Regions from separate parts of the Homo sapiens genome. Here region 1 is linked to region 2. Evidence: promoter capture Hi-C in 16 types of primary human blood cells and fetal thymus (Javierre and others, 2016). All regions are on one chromosome and are shown on one strand. Each heading gives the region's core, a stretch centred on a gene start or on the middle of the fragment in contact. The rest is flanking DNA. Distances are from core to core; before and after follow the strand shown. Region 1 has its middle 11 kb from the start of CCN6. Region 2 holds the start of SLC16A10 (solute carrier family 16 member 10).

Evidence for each region. The method cuts DNA at HindIII sites, captures the fragments that hold promoters and counts their contacts. A CHiCAGO score of 5 or more calls a contact.
Region 1: a fragment that was not itself captured here is called in contact with the fragment with the promoter of SLC16A10 in region 2 in 1 of 17 cell types (fetal thymus); the score reaches 5.2 in fetal thymus.

The regions. Positions count from the first base shown.
Region 1 is chr6:112,039,222-112,046,574 of GRCh38, forward strand. No RefSeq gene overlaps it. Among named protein-coding and RNA genes, the nearest start is that of CCN6, 11 kb to the right of the region's middle. RefSeq lists a silencer at 4,544-4,643. The HindIII fragment of the contact is 5,253 bases long and covers 249-5,501 here.
Region 2 is chr6:111,082,954-111,090,856 of GRCh38, forward strand. SLC16A10 (solute carrier family 16 member 10) reads left to right here and starts at 4,550. Exons shown (of 6, transcript NM_018593.5): 1 at 4,550-5,142. The coding sequence starts at 4,800. RefSeq lists silencers at 4,231-4,910, 4,941-5,120 and an enhancer at 4,933-5,433. The HindIII fragment of the contact is 14,016 bases long and covers 1-7,824 here.

The DNA.
Region 1 (7,353 bases), core at 1,625-4,124, 950 kb after region 2:
GTTCACGGCAAGGCTGACATTCCAGGGCAAACACCCGCCTTCTTGGCGCCCACGAGCAGCGGACTCCTCATTCTGCTTTAGTTTACTGCTTCCGCATTAACTCGTCCACTGGCTCCCTTATTCATTTGTTCAACAGACAATTATTATCTACTGTGTTGGCAACAGTGCTGGGCACTGGGTCTTCCTGTTCTTAGCTATGTAGAATTCAGAGAAGAACACAGTGCATAGATTGCCTAGGAGTGGAGAAAAGCTTGATGTGGCAACTTCCAGATCCTATCATAGGAGATGGAGCCGCATGTCCCTCCAAGATGCATATTCTGGGAGGTTTATTCCCAAATAAGAAGAGAGTGTGGGTGATGGGCAGCCACAAACATAGCAAATGTTCACTAAAGATAGTATCTTTACTATGACTGGTTCATCTGCATTCTCCTATTCCATGCCTGTTGCCTGTGAAGAGTCTGCAAAGGTTAGGTGCTCCTGCAGCTGACCTGGCCTTCTGCGTAGGGAGGAAGACAAGTTAGACTTCCAAACAAGGTGACATACAAGTGAGAACTCTGTTGGAGGCAGTTAGCAGAAACCCAATCCAAATTAGCTTAAGCAAAACAGAAATTTCATTTTAAGGATATGGGAGAGATTTGTCCATTACAGCTCAATAAAACTGGGGAAAAAAAAGAATATGGGGGAGGAGCATGTCTCATGGAATCCAGTGGAATCCATGCTTGGACTTTGGGAATGACACAAATCCAAAAACATGAATGTTGTCAGGACTCTGCTGCCAATATTCATATAATTAATAATATTTGTGGAGCATTTATTATGTCCTAGGCATGCTTTCTGCTTAGGTTCATTGCATTTTATTTATTTATTTATTTTTACAACAACTCTGTAAAATCTGAACTAAAATTATTCCATTTTTCAGAGGTGGAAGCCTGGGGAAGTAAAGGCATGTGTCCAATGTCACACAGCTATTGTAGTAAGAGAGCGAGTGTGAATCCATAGCCTGTACTGGTGACCCTAACCACATTGTTGTCCCCTGCCTTGGTGCAGACTGCCATCCTCTGTCCCTCAGCTCAACACACCCCAAGTTTCACACATGCCATCCATCAGTCTATGGAGACACCACACTTCTCTGTGTCTCCAGTCATCTCTCAAAGAAAGGACTATGATTGGCCAGGTTGGATGAGGTCCCAGGGGTATCACCCAGAGGAGCTCGGCCATACCAACTAGAAGAAATGGTTGAGAGTAAGGGCTTCAGGGGCAAGGCGACCATTTTCAGGAACTGAGTGTTTCTGAGCAGCCAAACAATGGTTAACTACAAATTTCACCTTTCCCTCCTGCATGACTTTTCATTTTTGCTTTACTTTCCAGCAATTTAGAAATAAATTTAATTTTCAAAGGCACTGACTCATTCCATGTGTCTGGGAGCATCTAGTTCTCTGCTCTATTTTACAGAGCTTTCCTCTTCTTTTACTATTTTTTTCAATCATTAAAAAAAATTTAATTCTCCTGTTTTATACTGTGCTTGATTTTTTTGTAAGCTGTCTTAGCTTACAAAAACATTTATGGAAATATGTGAGGGATAAATTATGGATTAAAAAAGAAAAAAGACTTCAGAGTTATGCTATCAACATGGCAGCTACTAGCCACTTATGACTATTTAAACTTAAATTAATTAAAATTAAATAAAATAAAAAATGTAGTTCCTCATTCACACTGACCATATTTTAAATGCTCAACAGCACATTATAGTTCTATATTATAGAATATTTCCATAATTGCTGAAAGTTCTGCTAGACAGTGCTGCTACACAGGGTTCCAACAATGGTGTGCTGTCTCTGAAATAATGAGCTCCCTAAAGGAAGTGGCCCGGTGACCTGCATTCACCCTCCAGATCTCAGGGGTTGTGAGTCCCAGCTTTCTTTCCCACCATTATGCTTCCTGTTGATTGCTTCCTGACTCACTTCCCTATTCATTTTCTCAAAGCCAACATTTACATCACATAAACTTAAGTTATTCCTTTTCAGTAGCAGAAAAAACATATAATTGTAATAAACATTTTTGGGGGGTGGAAGGGATATTTATTACTGATACTAAAAATTTAATGCCTTTGCTTAATTAGAGGTGGGACTGAAGGAATGCATGAACCGAAAATGCTGGCTAACAAAACAAAGTGTTTATACATGGAAATGCTTCAAGAGCCCCAAAACAGAGCTCCCATGTTCTCCATGGTGGGAAAGTTTCCATCTTTCCTCTTTTTGTAACTGTCCAGAAAAGACAGAATGTTTTTGATCAAAGTGGCTTTGAATCTTTAGCATTACGTTGTCCCATTAGAACAGAACTTTTTCCCATGCAGTGCCAATCCACACATTTAGTTTCTGCAGCTCCTTAGTTTTATTGGGAATGGGGGTGGGGATGGTGGCACCATCTTGTTTGAAAGGGTTTACAGCTGATACTACCGTTTACAGTAAATTCCTAGAGTGGGAGGAGGAAGTGGCACATTTTTGGAGCAGCTAGGTGGCTGGAAGAGATTCTCCTCCCCCAAGACTGGTCAGAGGTCCTGTGAGAATGGGAGCTGCTCACCTCTCCTTGGCAGTGTGCTGGGCTGGGGAGGTGCCAAGATATCCCTAGCAGCGACTCCAGCCAGGGAGATTGGTCCCTAGATGCAGCATCTTCCAGTGCACCAATGTTCTCATGACCCAAGGCTGGTACTGAAATAGCAGGATTGTCAAACCTGAAGGAACCATTGCCTGTGGGCTGCAGGGACCTGGAACCCTGACCCAAACCAGGATGGAGGAGGTGCCCAATAATGATTATGATTCAGCTGTCCAACAGCTCAATAAAAGGGGGACTTGGAGTTACATGCGACTTGATTTAAGGGATTCTAAAAATATATTTATTGTGAACCTGAGTTTAAGAACTGATATTCTTGCTTACTGAAGGTGGACATACTAACTTTGGACATAAAACCTGAGGGGCAGGTAAGGGCAGTGTCTGTGTGCCTGGCATGCACAGGACACAGATGGCATTCTGAAAGCCATCATCCAGGACTGAAGAGTTGCTTTCCACACTCTGAAACTGTGACACGAGATTCACTTTGGAGAGTCTTTTGTGGATGAGCCTCATCAATTAACAGTCCTAGTGTGTGTAAGCGTGAGCTCAGTTTTGTTCTGTCAAGTCTTAAGACAGCATTTGATTTAGCAGTTGATTCAATTACATTACATGTGGATTTGGAAAAGTGGTGTGTGTGTGTGTGTGTGTGTGTGTGTGTGTGTGTGTGTATTTCTTTTAAACAATGATGTAACCTTTCTGAATTCAGGTGGAAACTGTCTTGATTGACCTCCGCGTACCAGGACAGATTAATTAACTCTTAGTTTCTTTCGTGGAACATACGAACACACCCTGAGCTCACTGAGAGCTCACAGCTGGTAGGAGAGGAGGCTCCTCTTTAGTAGGCCCAGTGTGTTGTTTGCCTCTTTCCTAATCTGTTCATTCCACTTAATTGTATCCCGATAACGACACAATTTGAGCAAATATTAATTTGAGCAAATATTACTAAAACTGATGATACACAGATACATGAAGAAAGATATTTCCAATGGAAAGAAAAAGCAAAATGCTTGGGAAAGATTCAACAGGAAAAGCTGCTTTAAATGTGTTGTTGAATTATATTTGATGGTTATGAGTACAGAATCTAAGATTCTTTAGTCAAGATGTTTTACACTGTCTCTAAATTCTCATTTCACAAAGGAAACTCAAATGAGACAACATGGAGGATGCATTATATGTGTGGCTCATAAAGAGAGGGAACAATACAGCACTCTAATCAGCACATCTATATTCAAAGAAAGGCATTGGCTAAATAAAAACACTGGTGAGTAAATAGACAACTCAGTTCCCTGCTAAAATAAAATGTTTGTATAGGCAGGACTCCTGCGAGAGCCCCTTTGACTGCCCGTTGAGCGCCCTCTGCTGGCCCGGAGGGAAGGGTGCCACGGAGGGGACGGCGTCAGGGCCCCACCCACGGTTTAGTTTCAGATCAGCGCTTTTCAGTTCCAAGATACAGATTCCGGTTCCAATGAATGCTGGTTGAAAATACGGCCGTGGTTTTAAATATCATGAAACTATTTTACGTCCGTAGTACTTTCATCTATTTTTATAAGAATGTTTTGTAACTGAGAAACCTAAAGAGATGATGAATTTCCCCCACCGCCCCCGACTATTTTGCCTTTCAGTGACGCGGTAATATTTTACGATAGGTGCCGATTCAAATCAGTGGCTTTCAGAAAGTACAGCTGCTATTCTTTGGTGCCGCTATTCAGAATGACAATGTGAAATAAAAATGATTCTGACTATGGGAAGGTCTGATCTTCCTATGAATGAAAACAATCATGTGGGCCACAGAGAGCTCTCTCTTTCCAGCTATCGAGGGACTTTTTGCAGAGAGAGAAAAGGATCCTAAAGCCATGTTCCCGATACTGCAGACTTGGCGAGATGGCGGCGGGCTCCTCCCACCTCTGCGGCAGCGTCACAATCAATAATGCAGGGCTCTGCGGCAGAGGAAGCGCCTGCTTTTATATAGGGGCGCCCGGACCCCAGAGCAGGGCTAGTCCCTTAACCCATTCCGCCATCTAGCGTCCGCAGGGGCTCATGGCAGGTTGGAGCCGGACAGTCTGGAAACTGCAATCTAGATTTTGCAGAAGGGTGACCTTTAGCCTTCTGCAAAACCTAGATCTCACTTAATGTAGATCTCACTGAAGAAGGCAAATAAAAAGTGAGTGGAGTGTTTATTCATTTTCCTGTAAGATTAGTAACTTTAAGGCTAAAAACTCTAAAGTAAGTATTTCCCAAGCCCCTGCTGTAAGTCAGTCATGTTGTGGGTACCAAGGCTATGAAGATGTCTCAGTCTCTATTTTCAGTGACCCAGTCTAGTAGGGACAAGCCATATGAACATATGCCCAGTTAAATTTGAATTTCAGGTTAACACGGAATTTGTGTGTGTGTGTGTCCCATATATGCTAAAGCAGTTAACTGGGCATCTATTATTATCATTATTTTTATAAGCAAAATCTTGCAACCGTGCATATAAACAGATGATTGCAGTATGGGCTTTACAAGGGCAGGGTGGCACGCTAATTGCTTGAGGAGCTTTGCTGTGGGTGCTGGTTAGGAAGCGTTCTCAGGGGAGAAGTCGCTTGTGCAAACTGCTTATCAGATAAAGCAGTGGGCAGGGTTGTCCTGGTAGAATCGCATAAGCAAAAGCAAGAGGCTGGGGGACTCGCAGTACAGCAGGTCTGTGCTACCTGAGCTGGCAGGTGAGGCAAGGATAGTGCAGGGGTGAGGTTGCTTCATCGTGGAAGGCCTTCTACTGTGCTTCCCAGGAGCTGGGTTCTATTCCAGGGGGAGTGAAAAAGGGTTTTGAGCGGGAGAGTGACATGATCTAATTTGTGTTTAAGAAAAAGAGATCAAATGGCAATGTTGAGGCTGGACTGGGGGAGGTAGGAAGCTTGGAGGCAGGGAGGCCTGAAGGAAATTGTCTAAGGTGAGTGAGCTCAGAAAAGTAGCAGAGCTTGAAGGTGAATGAGGGTCTTTTGACTCCAAGTCCAGGATGCCTGTCACTGTCCCCATCTAATTGAATTATGATTCACATGTGCAAGCATTTTACAAATCAGGAATGACACACCACATTATGCATACTTTTCCTTCTCTGAAAGATTAGCTTCACCCACATTTGGAAATACTGGAAATTTTTCTGTCCTCCTCTTCTCTTGCTTCTCCTTTGCATGTGGTCGGCCTCGGTGTCTGCCTCTGATTAACTCAGCCCTGTTTCCCACACAGAGCTCCCCCTGCAAACCAGACTAACAAGGCCAAGTGACAAAATGAATTATAAACCTCTGAGATATTTGGCCTTGTTTTCCTTGGGCCACAGCCTGACTTTTTTAAAGGCCCTTGGAATGAGGACACCTGTTTATTTTCAAGGAGACTCTGACCCAAGCCCCACGCAGATGGCTGGGCAGAGCATTTTGTGGTGGTCAGAGGTTGCTCATTTTTGGACCTGGTTTATTAAAAGTTGGACAGGGGACCAAGCAGAGCCTGGCACCTCTTTGTCCCTCCATCCATGGTGGGGGGCATTGGCAGCACCTTAGCACGCACAGAACAGCCCCTCAGAGAATGCACAGGTGTTGATTAACAAGGCTTGTATACACGTTAGTGGAGGAAGAAGAGAAAACAAACCTACTCTCTCATGCACATGTGACTAGAGTCACGTTGGGATCGTGAGGCTAGTGCTTTGTAAAAAAAAAATGGGATGCTTTTAACAGAAAGACATATAGAAAAAAAGGTAAGTGAGATGTGCAATACAGTCACATGTCACACAATGACGTTTTAGTAAATGACAGTCCTCATATACAAAAGTGGTCTCATAAGGTTATAGTGTAGCTGAAAAACTCCAATCACCTAGTGCCATCGTAGCCATTCCAACATCACAGTGCAATGCATTATATGTTTGTGGTGATGCTGGTATAAACAAACCAACTGCACTGCCAGTCATATAAAAGTATAGCACATACAATTATGTACAGTACATAATACTTGAGAATGATAATAAATACTACATTACTGGTTTATATATTTACTATACTATATTTTTATCATTATTTTTGAGTGTAATCCTTCTACTTATTAAAAAAAGTTAGCTATAACACAGGACAGGCAGGTCCTTCAGAAGGCATTGTTATCATAGGAGATGACAGCTCCATGCATGTTTTTGCCCCTGAAGACCTTCCAGTGGGACAGGACGTTGAGGTGAAAGACAGTGATATTATGATCCTGACCCTGTGTAGGCCTAGGCTAATGTGGATGTTTGTGTCTTAGTTTTTACTAAGAAAAGTTTTAAAAGTAAGAAAAAACATTAGAAAAAAAGCATACAGAATAAGGATACAAATAAATTATTTGTGTATAGCAGTACAATGTGTTTTAAGCTGTGTTATAAAAGAGTCAAAAAGTTGGCCAGGCACGGTGGCTCATGCCTGTAATCCCAGCACTTTGGGAGGCCAAGGTGGGTGGATATTTGAAGTCAGGAGTTTGATACCAGCCTGGCCAACATGGTGAAACCCTGTCTCTACTAAAAATACAGAAATTAGCCAGGTGTGGTGGCAGGTGCCTGTAGTCCCAGCTACTTGGGAGGCTGAGGCAGGAGAATAGCTTGAACCCAGGAGGTGGAGGTTGAAGTGATCTAAGATTGTGCCACTGCACTCCAGCCTGGGGGACAGAGTGAGACTGTCTCAAAAAAAAAATCAAAAAGTTAAAAAAAGGATAAAAAGTCTATAAAGTAAAAAAGGTACAGTAAGCTAAGGT
Region 2 (7,903 bases), core at 3,300-5,799:
TTTAAATTATTTTTGAATTCTATTCAATTTGGTTCAATAAATATTTGTTGTGCACTAACACTACTTGGTGCTGTGGTTCAAAGATTTGTGAAAGACTATCTGACCTGTCTGAAAATTCCTACACTAGCCAAGGAGATTGAAAACCATTCTACTGACCATAAAAACTGCTATAAATAAAATATGGAAGCCTAGCGGAAGGATCAGTAAAGGCTTCAGAGAAGTGAATTCCATTTTAGAGTGGAGCCTTGAAGATTGAGTGAGATTTCACCATTAGGAAAAGGGGAGAGGTGGTCATTTCAGAAGCAGGGTCTGCAGGGAGGAATAGAGGTGTTCATACTTGTTCCTGAAATGAGGAGCAGGCCTTAAGACTGCAGAACAGAGTTTCAGCAGGTATAGGTTAGAGGATGAATTGGTGCAGGCAGAATTTGTTGGCAGCAAGACTAATTAGTAGGTCATTATGATGGTCCTTGAGAAATGATAAGGAATCATTAAGGAATCAGCAGCAAGGATGGAGAGTAGGGAACCAGGCAAAAGACCTTCTGGAGCTAGAGTTGACAGGATTGCGTTTGAGAGAACCAGGGGAGAAGTATATTAGGAAGCAGACCCAGGTTTCAGCTTGGATTTGGGAGGATTAGGAGTAATACCAAAGGAGAATCAGGTTGAGGGGACTTCTGAAAGAGAGGTAAAAAAGTGGAGATGAGAGAATTAGTTCAGTCTCATTTTTAAAGTGCATTTTTTGGCCCTGCGTGGTGGCTCACGCCTGTAATCTCAGCACTGTGGGAAGCTGAGGTGGGCAAATCACTTGAGATGAGGAGTTCGAGACCAGCTTGGCCCAACATGGTGAAACCTTGTCTCTACTGAAAATACAAAAAATAGCTGGGCGTGGTGGCACGTGCTTGTAATCCCAGCTACTTGGGAGGCTGAGGCAGGAGAATCACTTGAACTCAGGAGGCAGAGGTTGCAGTGAGCTGAGATTGTGCCACTGCCCTCCAGCCTCGGGGACAGAGAGAGACTCTGTCTCAAAAAAAAAAAAAAAAAAAAGGGCCAGGCACAGTGGCTTACACCTGTAATCCCAGCACTTTGGGAGGCAGAGGCAGGCGGATCATGAGGTCAGGAGATCAAGACCATCCTGGGAGGCTGAGGCAGGAGAATCACTTGAACCTAGGAGGTGGAGTTGCAGTGAACCGAGATCTTACCACTGCACTTCAGCCTGGGTGACAGAGCGAGACTCTGTCTCAAAAATAAAATAAAACAAAATAAAAATAAATAAATAAGACTGTCCTAAATAGGAAAGGTTGGTCTTTTGAAATAGAATAAGGAATCAAGTGGATTGTTTTGTTTAATAAATAAGTTTAACATAAACTGCTGATGAAAAGGCCTACATAAAGCACTGTTGGCATTTAGATTTAATGAACTATTACACCTTTTAAAATTTTATAAATCTTTTTATCTGATCTCAAAGCACTTAATAAATAGGAACTCATTAAAAACATACCATCACTGCGCTGAGCATGGTGGCTCATGCCTGTAATCCCAGCACTTTGGGAGGCCAAGGCAGGCAGATTACGAAGTCAAGAGATCGAGACCACCCTGGCCAACATGGTAAAACCCCATCTCTACTAAAAATACAAAAATTAGCTGGGTGTGGTGGTGCACGCCTGTAGTCCCAGCTACTCAGGAGGCTGAGGCAGGAGAATCGCTTGAACCCGGGAGGTGGAAGTTGAAGTGAGCCGAGATTGGGCCACTGTACTCCAGCCTGGTGACAGAGTGAGACTCCATCTCAGGAAAAAAAAAAAATACCATCACTATGTCACTATGCTGTAGTTATAAGTAAACAGGTTCATATTTTCAGGTGGAGAAGATGAGGTCAATCCAATAACACAATGTGAGTTGTTGATTAGTGTGGACATAGAAATAGAAGGTAGTTTTCCTGGACACCTAAAACTCTGCTCCATTCAATAGCCTATTGGTAGTTAGAAGTAAACACTCTTTTTTTAAAGAGATGGATTATTACTTATGTTGCTTGAGGCCAGGAGTTCGAGACCAGCCTGGTTGCTGGTCTCAGCAATGTTGCTCAGGCTGATCTCGAATTCCTGGCCTCAAGCCATCCTCCCACCTGAGCCTCCCAAAGTGCTGGGATTACAGGCTTGAGCCACCACACCTTGCCTCATTTGTTACAATTAATGACCCAATGTTGATACATTATTATTAACTAAAGCCGACATTTTGTTCATATTTCTTTACTTTTAATCTAATGTCCTTTTTCTGTTCCAGTATCCATCCAGGATATCACATTACATTTAGTTATCATGTCTCTTAGGCTTTTTTTTTTTTTTTTGAGTTGGAATCTCACTGTCACCCAGGCTGGGGTACAGTGGCGCGATCTCAGCTCACTGCAACCTCTGCCTTCTGGGTTCAAGCGATTCTCCTGCCTCAGCCACCTGAGTATCTGGGATTACAGGCCCACGCCACTATGCCTGGCTAATTTTTGTATTTTTGGTAGAGATGGGGTTTCGCCATATTGGCCAGGCTGGTCTCGAACTCCTGACCTCAAGTGATCCGCCCGCCTCGGCCTCCCAAAGTGCTGGGATTACCAGCATGAGCCACGACACCCAGCCCTCTTAGACTCTTTTTTACTGTGACAGTTTCTCAGACTTTCCTTGTTTTTGATGACTTTTACAGTAATGAAAGTACTTAATGGGTATTTTGTAGACTGTCCTTGATTGGGATTTGTCTAATGTTTTTCTGATGGTTAGCCAGGGATTATGGGTTTTGGCAGGAAGACCACAGAGGTAAAGTACCATTTTCATCACATCATATCGGGGATACATTATCATCTAGTTGAGGTACTGTGTGCCATTTTTTGCACCCTAAAGTTATTTCTTCCCCCCACTCCCCCTTTCCATCCTATACTCTTTGGAAGAAAGTTACTACGCATACCCACACTTAAAGAGTAAACCATTGTACTTCACCTCCATGAGGGAGGGAGTATGTTCATAAAGTATTTACATTTCCTGCAGGAGAGATTTGTCTATTCTCTCCTCATTATTTATTTAATCATTTACTTACATCAGTACTGACTCGTGGATAATTCTTACATATGTGTTTGTTTGTGTGCATGCAAATATATAATCGATGTGCTTTCTTTGCCCAATAATATGTTGTGGACAACTTTCAAAGTCAATAAATACAGATGACCTTCAGAACTTTTAGAGGTTTTAAAGTAAGTATCTAATCAGTCTTCTACCAATGTACATTATACTTCCAAATTTTCCTTATTTCCAACAATACTGGGGTATCATCTTCATACATACATTTTTGTGCACTTATGTGCCTATTCCTTTGTTTACTATTTTACCCTCATTTCTAAGGCAGATTACACTTGAGCTATGTTCCCCATTCCACAACCAAGCACGGCTTGCTTTCCTTAGTTTATGCTATTTTCTCTACCTGGAATGCTCTTTTCCTGTCTTGACCCACTGAAGTCGTATGTATGAATCAGGGCTTCGGCCAAAGGCTGTTTGCTGTAGAGGCTCTTCTACAGTGTTTGGAGAGAATTTAAGGGACTATCTCATCTCTCTCTTTTGTACATGTATTATAACACATCATCTGAGCCTCCTAGTCTCTCCCAGGACTCTTTTTTCCTACCAGTTTATCAACTGATAAGAGGCAGAAACGAGATCAATCGCACTCATCTGTGTACTCTATCACAGTGGTGGGCACATCAAGTAACTAGCATATTTTGACTTTGATTGAAGTGAAGAATACGAATAACAGAAATTAAGAAGCATCCTCAATATTGCATAGCAGGTTACTCTTCTTTTCTTTTACATAGGATGGCACTCCATGCTTCAGGGAGACAGAGGAGTTGAATACAGGTTTTAGTTTTTGTTTAAAGTGAAAACGACTCTGATGTAGTTGAAAAGTAATGCTTTCTAGCTGTCTGTTAAAAATGTTTGTTGGTTGAAGACTTCGGAATTGCAGTCCAGTGAGGACTGAAAATAAGCATCTTTGGTGTGCCAAATATTCATAAGGAAATTGTATACGAATGCAAGAGAATGGAACTGAAGTAATAAAATAAGGGCTCTGATCCTTCAGATGACTTATTTAAGAAGCCAGGTGGCATAACGAATCTTACATATTATAATTAGTACTGAGAGGTGAATGCCAAAACATAAAACAAACACAATCGAGACAATGTTAGTGTGACTGTGACGCTGTGTCGGTGAGTTGAGGCTAACGATCCAGTGTGGCTCTCCTGAAGGCCCACCGCGCCCGCACCTAGGAGACGCGCCCCTTCTGCTCATGCTTTGAGGCGGGGTGACCCACACATCTGTGCCCCTCTCTGAGCAGGAGGAGGCCCCGTCGCAGACGCGCGCGCAGACAGCGTCTGCCGCGGGCACCTGGGGCCGCGCGCCGCGGGGCGCCCCGCCTCCGCTCTCCGAGGCCCAATCATCTGGAGGCTGTGGGGGCACGTCCCGCTCCCGGCCACGCCCCCAGCCGGCGGGGCGGGGGGTGCTTTTAAGAACCGGCGGCTGGCAGTGGGCTCAGTCGGGGGTGCGGGGCTGTGACCTAGAGGCTTCAGTGTCGATCCCCGAGGTGTTCGCGCGCGCCAGCTGTCCTCGCGGCCGCCTGCGCGCTGGCCGCCTGCGCGCTGCCAGCCCGCCCGCCCGCCAGGGGCTCCGCCGCCCTCGCCTCGGCCTCGTTAGCCCGCCAGGAGCCCCGCAGCTCCTCCGGGAGCCCGCTGGTAACTCGCGTCCCTCGCGCTTCTCCGGCGCCTGAGGGGCCCGCCTCGGGCCATGGTGCTCTCCCAGGAGGAGCCGGACTCCGCGCGGGGCACGAGCGAGGCGCAGCCGCTCGGCCCCGCGCCCACGGGGGCCGCTCCGCCGCCCGGCCCGGGACCCTCGGACAGCCCCGAGGCGGCTGTCGAGAAGGTGGAGGTGGAGCTGGCGGGGCCGGCGACCGCGGAGCCCCATGAGCCCCCCGAACCCCCCGAGGGCGGCTGGGGCTGGCTGGTGATGCTGGCGGCCATGTGGTGCAACGGGTCGGTGTTCGGCATCCAGAACGCTTGCGGGGTGCTCTTCGTGTCCATGCTGGAAACCTTCGGCTCCAAAGACGATGACAAGATGGTCTTTAAGACAGGTGAGGCGCGGCGCCCGCCGAGGCCAGCCTGGGCGACCCGCGTGGGGCCCCCGAGCGCATCCCGCGTGTGGGCTGTGTCTGCCTCCGAGTGTGCATGTCGGTGGGTCCCTGTGCCAGAGGGTGCGAGCAGGGGGGTCTTTCGAGTTGCAGACAGAGCCTGCCGCTTCTGGGGCCTCGGGGTGCCCGTCTTTATATGGAATCCAGCTGCAGAGCTGTGTGTTTGCAAGCAGGTCGCAGAACTTACTTGCCGAGATCGTCCTCCTTTCCCCTCAGCAGAGCAGACGCTAACAGTCCACAGGAGCCCTTCCTTTTATTGTTTGAAAACAAACAGAACCCCAGAACCTTCAACCCCAGTCATCGCCCTGTCATTTTTGTGGTCTCTTTCGTGACTATGCCAGTTATGTAGTTCTTCACCTGCCTCCCTGGGCCGCAGAGGGGTGTGCGTATGTTGGCGGGGCGGGGGGTGGAGTTTGGAGGAATGAAAGAGATTTGTACGAAGGTCACTGGAGTTCCAAAGGGGGCCCTGCAAGAGTCACGGTTCCGTGCGTTCCCGTCCCCCCGCCTTTTTTTGCCCTCTGGGTTAAATGTAGAAAACACGGGAGGCAGCCGGATTAGGGACTAGGATGAGGAAGGTGAAGGGTTGCTTCTTCCCTCTTCCTGTTGTGTTTTTTGACATTTTTTTTTAACCATATAGTAAATTAGATACAAAAGGTGCAGATTCAGCGTTTTCTCCCTGTAGAGCATTATTATGACTTTTTGGCTGGTTAGGCAAAAAACAAATCTAAGACCTTCTGCATGACACTTTAACATAAATTCTTTCACTTTATCCTGCAAGGTGAGCGCGGTCAACCCCATTTGGGTGAGAAAACTGTAGCTCAGTGAAAGTGTCTTGGTGGGTAGTAGAATGGCAATAAAACACATATCAACTGACTTCAAGGGCTAAGTGATTTCCATTACTAAATCAACCTCCCTCCCCATCATTTGGGGTAACTTTATATGATTAATAGTCTTTTTTTTTAACCTTGATTTTCTATTATTTTTAGAGTGAATATTTCTTAGGTCTTTAGTATGCATATGAGGAATGGGCAAGACTGTAATAAATTCTGAGACAAAGGTAATGCTGGGTTATGCTGAGAGTTTTAAAACCTGACATAAATACTATTAAACTATTTGTATCATTCTGCAACTTACTTTTCTTCCATTCCGCATCATGTTTGTGACTTATCCACATAATACCTCAGTGTGAACTGATAACTCAAATTCTTTCCATTTTAACTTAGGTGGTTTGCATTGTTTGACTATATTATACTCTATGCATTCTCCCTCTGATGGGCATTTAGATTGCTTCCAAACTCATTCTAAACAATGCTGCAATGAATATTCTTGTACACTCTCGTTATGCATGTGAATACGGTACCATTTTAACCTGGAATTTCTGTTCTTTAAATAGCTATTGAAACTGCTGTGGTATGCGGGTCAATGGGCTAGGTACAAAAAGTGTTAAAAATGTAGTAACATATCCTTACCATTTAAGGGAAGTAATCATTGTAAAGTTTAGCAGGGGAGATATGCATATATAATAGCAAACAAAAATAGTTTGTTGTCTTTTCTATATGAGTATTGGGTGTCAGAGAGAAAAGCCCCAAAAGAAGGCAGAATTGACAGAGTTAACATTTAAAGACTAGTTCCAACATTTACCATATTCCTGCCTGGGATTACAGATTTTTTAATGCAGTCAAGATAACAGCAGTCTTTTGTTTATCATTGTTTTTGCAAATTCAGTTAAGTAGATCCTTTGGTGTCTGTGGGTGGGTTTTTTTTTTTTTTTTTTTTTTTTTTTTTTTTTTTTTTGAGAGAGAGAGAGAGCAATTGCCAGAGAGACCATAGCTTTGCCAGGGATGAGAATTTTGCAGTGTCAAAGTCTCTACCTACTACTTGTCCCCAAAGTTCTAATTGGCTACACAATATCCCAATACTGGGTAGCTGAGAGTGAGGGAAGGAACCTGGTTTTTCTTTTGCACTCTGTGGAACTTTGTGTTTTCCATTTTGATGAATATCTTTTTTCTTTTTACTCAGTTCAGTCTTTGACAACTTTTTCAGTCATGTTTGTGTATGTGTGGGTATATATCATATAAACAGTTGCACAGGTGTGCTAGTTAAATGTGTGAAGATCTTTGTGTTTCTCTGCCTGACTGCTGTATATCTATTTATGGTTGTGCCATTGCACAAGGGTGCCCAACTCAGGGGTAAGTGGGGACTGAAAACCAGCCTGGGCTCTGGGTGCCCTTTGTCTGATTCCTACAGAAGGGCCCTATGCACTTGTAATGGCCCTGTATAACACAGCATCTAGATTGAACAATGGCCATTACTTGGGTGCTAGGTAATACATATATGACTGATAGATGTTAAGGGCTGAGGAAGAAAACAGATTTAAACTTAGTGCTGAAAAAATGGTTACAAGATAGTCTTTAAGCCAGTTATTGTTGAGATCTCTCTCTCTTCCCCTGTCCCCTACCCCTTTCTCTTTCCTTCAGTGCACACACACACACACAAAGGTGTTTCATGAAGTCCCTCATCTACCACAGTCACTGTTATTTGAGAATATCTGCTTTGAAGTTTGATTGGTCACACTTTTTCACTTTGATATTCGAATGCTGAGTCGTCTGTGATCAAGCATATGCAAGCTTCAAATACATGCCAAAAAATATCTGGAATTTGTTTAAGCCTTTTATTTTTCAAAGTTTTGGTCTATTTTCTATTA